Linked DNA regions of Homo sapiens: region 1 is linked to region 2. Evidence: promoter capture Hi-C in 16 types of primary human blood cells and fetal thymus (Javierre and others, 2016). All regions are on one chromosome and are shown on one strand. The core of a region is centred on a gene start or on the middle of the fragment in contact, and the rest is flanking DNA. Distances in the headings are between cores, read along the strand shown.

Region 1 (2,700 bases), core at 6-2,505, 170 kb before region 2:
ATAATCCCTTGTGCCTCATCTTTTCTGGTTCTTTCTTCTCCTCCTTTTGGCTTTTGTTCTCTCTCTTCAACAATTCCTCTTTGCTAGGTATCTAGAGGCTGGACCGCTCATCCTCTCCCCTGACAACTGACAAGCTTATTTACACTGGGGTTTTGGGGATTTCATAGCTGGACTCACTTCTGGGGAGGGTGGATATTTTTTAAAATCTGGGGAGGGCAGTGCTTCCCAAAGGGGGTTCAACAGAATGCTATTCCCAAGAGTGGTCCACATAAGAGTGTCCCACAGTCAAAGATGCTTAAGAAACTCAAGTTTACTCCATACTATGCAACTGTGCATTAGCCATTGCTAAGGCGGGATGGAGGATGCCAGACTTTACAAAAGTTTTGGCCATACAGTCTATCACTGCCCCTCTCTCTTTATCATAGAGTGGCTCTTGACCTCTCAGCCGCATTTTATTGTTTACCTAAATGATTAACTCCTGCTCATACAAGGAACTATCCTGAGGCAAAAACCCTTGTGGGTCTAAAATCACACACACATGCAGTATCTACATTCCCAGTGTAGATTCCCAACACCAGAAATAACATGGAAACTATGTAGAATAAAAATTTTGATTTTCACACACTTGATTCATTACATTTCTGGCCTGATTTTTACTTTCTTTTAAAAATTATTATTATTATTATTATTATTATTAGAGACATGGTCTCTCTCTGTCACCCAGGCTGGAATAGAGTGGCAAGATCATGGTTCACTGCAGCCTTGACTTCCTGGGCTCAAGTGATACTCCTGCCTCAGCTGAGAGGATGTAATTCCAAGTAACTGGAGTTACAGGCATGAGGCACCATGCCTGGCTATTTTTATTTTTATTTTATGTTTTAGAGATGAGGTCTTGCTCTGTTGCCCAGGCTGGTCTCGAACTTCTGGGTTCAGGTGATCCTCCCGCCACAGCCTCCCAAAGTGCTGGGATTATAGGCATGAGCCACCTCACCTGGATGACTTTTGCTTTCTTAATGGTTTAAATTCATATTTCTTGACCCAGCCTGGGACCTAAGGCAGGGGTCCCTGCAGTCAACAAAAGGTAGGGTGAAGGCTCCTGTCTGGCTCTACGTGTGAGGCTAGAAAGGTATGGCACACCCCACACCCAGCCTAGTTTCTTCATGTATAAAATATGAGCAATGATTCTGTCTGCCACCCAAGGATTAAATAAGACAAAGTCAGTCCAAGGGCTCAATGGGGACCACTTCAAGTAGAGGTGACAGCTTTGGTTGCTTTCTCAGGTACTGCTACAAGGTTCAGTGGTCAGAGCTATGTGCGGTACAGGGCCCCAGCGGCTCGGAACTGGCACATCCATTTCTATCTGAAAACACTCCAGCCACAGGCCATTCTTCTATTCACCAATGAAACAGCGTCCGTCTCCCTGAAGGTAAGGCACTGCCAGCCTGAGAGATTTCATGTGGGTGTCCCAGGCTGGGGAGGTAGGGGGTGAGGCATGAGGAATGTCAGGAAGCCCATTTCTGCCAAAGAAATCCCTGCACAGTTTTCAGGGATTCTGGGTGTGACTGTTGGGCCACATGATTATCCTGTCCTGGATGGCCACAGCCACCCAACCTGGAGATATACGTCCAAGGACGGTCACAAGTGGGGCTGCTTACTCTGTGGGGTAAGATAGAAATGGAGATGGATGAGGTCAACTAGCCCTGGTGCCGTTATCATTTTTGCTGAGTAATAGGCCAGTGTTTCCCAGGGATGGGGGGATTGCTTACCACTGGGGGTGCTCAAACCCCATGGAATCACATGGAAGAAAAATAAATTTCCTTTGTAATAATCATTCAGTTATTTGGATTATGTCATGTGGAAGGTCACAGTCTGCCTGTGATTTTAACACCTCTATCACATATGCCAATCTACCATTTCTTTTTTCTTTTTTTTTTTTTTGAGATGGAGTCTCTCTCTGTCACCGAGGCTGGAGTGCAGTGGTGTGATTTCAGATCACTGCAACCTCTGTCTCCCAGGTTCAAGCGATTCTCCTGCCTCAGCTTCCCGAGTAGTTGGGATTACAGGCACACACCACCATGCCTGGCTATTTTTTGTATTTTTTAAGTAGAGATGGGGTTTTGCCATGTTGGCCAGGCTGGTCTCGAACTCCTGACCTCAGGTGATCCGCCTGCCTCGGCATCCCAAAGTGCTAGGATTACAGGCATGAACCACTGCCCTCAGCCCCAACCTACCATTTCAACAAAGAGAAAGCCAACTTTGGCCACTAGATTTTAATTCATTCAAAACAGATTTATTGAGCATCTACTATGTGACAGGCACTGTCCTAGGTGCTTGGGTCTCATCAGTGAAAAAGACAGAAATCCCTTTTAAAGCTTTTGTTCTATGGGGGAGAGACTGACAATAAACATAAACATAATAGCTCAGAAAATTATAGAATTTGTTCAAATGTGATAAGTATTATGAGCAAAAAGGAAAAAATGGAGGGGCATCAGGGGTGAGGAGAGTTGCAATTTTTATTTATTTATTTATTGAGACAGAGTCTCACTCTGTCGCCCAGGCTGGAGGGCAGTGGCATGATCTCAGCTCACTGCAACCTCTGCCTCCTGGGTTCAGGTGATTCTTGTGTCTCAGTCTCTGGAGTAGCTGGAATTACAGGTGTGTGCAACCACGCTCACTAATTTTTTTCTTTTGCGTCTTTAG
Region 2 (2,700 bases), core at 152-2,651:
TTGATTCAGGACAAGAAGCTGGCAGGGTGGGGCCAGCATTAAAACAAAGGAGACAGTGCTGTGGTCAAAGCTGCAGGCTTCAGAAAAAACAAACAAACAAAACAAAAAACAAACAACAACAACCAAAAAAAACCTGGCTAGCGGGGAGTTCGGATTTACCGAGTTCCAGCTGTGACCTCCAGCAAGTTATTCTTTTCCTCTCTGAGCCTCAATTTCCACATCTGTAAAAACAAACTAACAAAGCTAACCCACAGAAGTAGCCAGGCTTTGTGGAGCTTGAAGCTTATCCCATGGAGAAGGGGAAAGTAGTGGTAAGGAGGACCTCTTTAAGAAAAAAGCAATACAAAATTGTCCATTCAAAATTGCATACAGGACCTTGGAAAGAGCCCCATGTAAGGGAGGGGCCTGACAAATCTGTCTTGGATGCTACCAGTTAGCAGTGACATTAGCTAAGCAAAGCTTGTGGCATGTAATAAGCCCTTAAGAAATGTTAGTTTTGGGGATGAGATGATGGAGGAGAGAGTGGTATGGCTTGAGTCAAAAGCTGTAATTTTGAGGGAGGAGGAAATTTTGGCCTGTTCATCTGCACTGAAGCAGAGATAATGACAGAGAGTGGGATACTAGAGAAACGCCCAAGACCATCTTTAGCTGCAGAGTTCTATCCTGGATTTCATGTGTGACCTTAGACAAATCTCACCACCTCCTGGCGCCAGTATCTTGCCCAGCAAACTGTGGCTGGGAGTCATACAATCTCAGCCTCTTCCCCGTTTCCAGAAGAACACTCTTTACTCACTCCATGGAGCCTCACAAAAGCTAAGAATTAATTAGAGATGACTGAGTGACTGTCCCTTTTTTGTTCCAATTTAAGAATGGGGTGCTGCAAGAAGGGATGTCTTACAGCAGACTGTGGAGCCAGTGAGACATGGAAACCTCTACCCTGAGATGAATAAAAGGAGAGGGATTTGTAGGTATTTTCTTGGAGACAGAAATAGGTTACTGGTTGAAAACCTTGACAAATTGGGCTAGGTTCCAACTCTGTCACTTTCTAGCTATCTGACCTCGGGCAGATTCCTTTACTTCAAGAAACCTCAGTTTTCTCCTTACTTAATTGATAGGGTTAAATGAGAAAATGTAGATAAAACACTTAGAGGATTGCTTATCCCTTAGTACAGGGCTTAATAGATATTTGTTATTAAAATTATCAGTATAATAGTTATCATTATGATTATTATTAAGTAATACCAATACGAATGGGTGATGCCTTTTCCAAATCCCTCCTTCCTCTCCTCCTCTTCCCAGGAGTCCTCGTCCACTGGCTTCTCCAGGCAGGAAGAGGTGCCCTCCAGGGAGGTGGGCGGGGCCTCGTTCCAGCTTGGCCAGAGCCAGCCCGGGCACACACCACTGTGCTGGGGTGTACATCTACACTAGACACCTTCCTGCTTCCCTCCTTCCAGAGCAGACCTCTTTGTCACCCCGAGCTCCTTGTTTCTTAAGCAGTCATGTCTGTGACAAAAAGTACTGAGGGTCCCCAGGGAGCCGTTGCCATCAAATTGGACCTTATGTCGCCTCCTGAAAGTGCCAAGAAGTTGGAGAACAAGGACTCTACATTCTTGGATGAAAGTCCTTCAGAGTCAGCAGGCTTGAAGAAGACCAAGGGCATAACGTGAGTGCTGTTTTCTGCCATCCCTATTTCTGCTTTCTAGCCTGAAGCTTGCATTGGCAAAAACCCTGAGGTGGGTGTGTCTGACCCTCAACCCACTGTGCAGATGAGAAACCAAGGTTGCAAAAGGTGCAGTCATGGGCTGAGTCAAGCTGAGGCAGAAGTAAAGGCTGTCAGAAAAGCCCTTAGGGACATAGTGATCCAGATCCCAAAAGGCACAGGTGGGGAAACTGAGGCTCAATTACCCTGGACCACATACTGAGTCATTGGCAGGATAAGGGCTAGAATTCAGTGCTGGCCCTAAAGCCACATTTTTGTTCCTGGCCAGCGATGTTAAGATTGGGGATAGAGGTAGAATCCCTAACTACTTGGAGGAGAAGGTGAGTCCTGAGCTTAAAACCACAGTGGCCTCACTGACCACTAAGTATTTCCTCCTCCCTGCCTCCTTCCTGCAGTAAGCCTGGCCTCTACTTCAACTGAGAAGCATAGATGACTCTAAAAAACACACTTTGTGGAAAGTTCTAGTTTTTTCCACTTTCCAGGGAGTGGGGAGTGGGGGTTATTCACAAGGCTTCCAAAACATAAAAAAAGAGGGAAGCCAAGCTACAGGGCTGCAGCTCCCTTCCCCACATCTGACCCCACCACCCAACCAGACTTGCTAGTTTACTTAGGAACAAAAGGTGTGGGGTGTGGTAGTGAAGAGGTTCTGCTGCTTTAAGAAGAAAGTTTTTGCACCACTAGATAGTAGAAAGAGCACTGGACAGAGAATCAGAAGGCCTGAGTTCAAGTGGTTTCTCTGCTCCTTCTCTAAGTTCCAGTTTTCTGACATGCAAAACAGGTGGCAGTGTGAACTAAAGGAGGGTGCATGGAAACAAAATCGGAGGATGTGTTTCTCGGGGGTGCACTGCAGGGAGGGACTGTAAGGGGCAGGCAAAGCCCCTCCCCACAGCCATCCAGCAGGACAATTTAGGGATGGACACAGTGACTGGCCCTGCTGCCTGTGCTGTCGCCCCAGGGCTAGTCCTGGAAGTTGCTAAGTA

The links. Contacts are between HindIII fragments. The CHiCAGO score rates a contact against its expected background, and 5 or more counts as called.
Region 1: a fragment that was not itself captured here is called in contact with the fragment with the promoter of SLC36A2 in region 2 in 3 of 17 cell types (M2 macrophages, M1 macrophages and M0 macrophages); the score reaches 8.2 in M2 macrophages.

The regions. Positions count from the first base shown.
Region 1 is chr5:151,516,346-151,519,045 of GRCh38, reverse strand. FAT2 (FAT atypical cadherin 2) reads left to right here. Exons shown (of 24, transcript NM_001447.3): 20 at 1,281-1,426. It also overlaps a transcript of SLC36A1 not described here. Among named protein-coding and RNA genes, the nearest start is that of MIR6499, 4.5 kb to the left of the region's middle. RefSeq lists a cis regulatory region at 1,790 and an enhancer at 1,706-1,875. The HindIII fragment of the contact is 2,238 bases long and covers 137-2,374 here.
Region 2 is chr5:151,346,260-151,348,959 of GRCh38, reverse strand. It overlaps SLC36A2 (solute carrier family 36 member 2), which reads left to right and starts at 1,401. Exons shown (of 10, transcript NM_181776.3): 1 at 1,401-1,663. The coding sequence starts at 1,500. It also overlaps a transcript of SLC36A1 not described here. RefSeq lists an enhancer at 975-1,888. The HindIII fragment of the contact is 1,251 bases long and covers 462-1,712 here.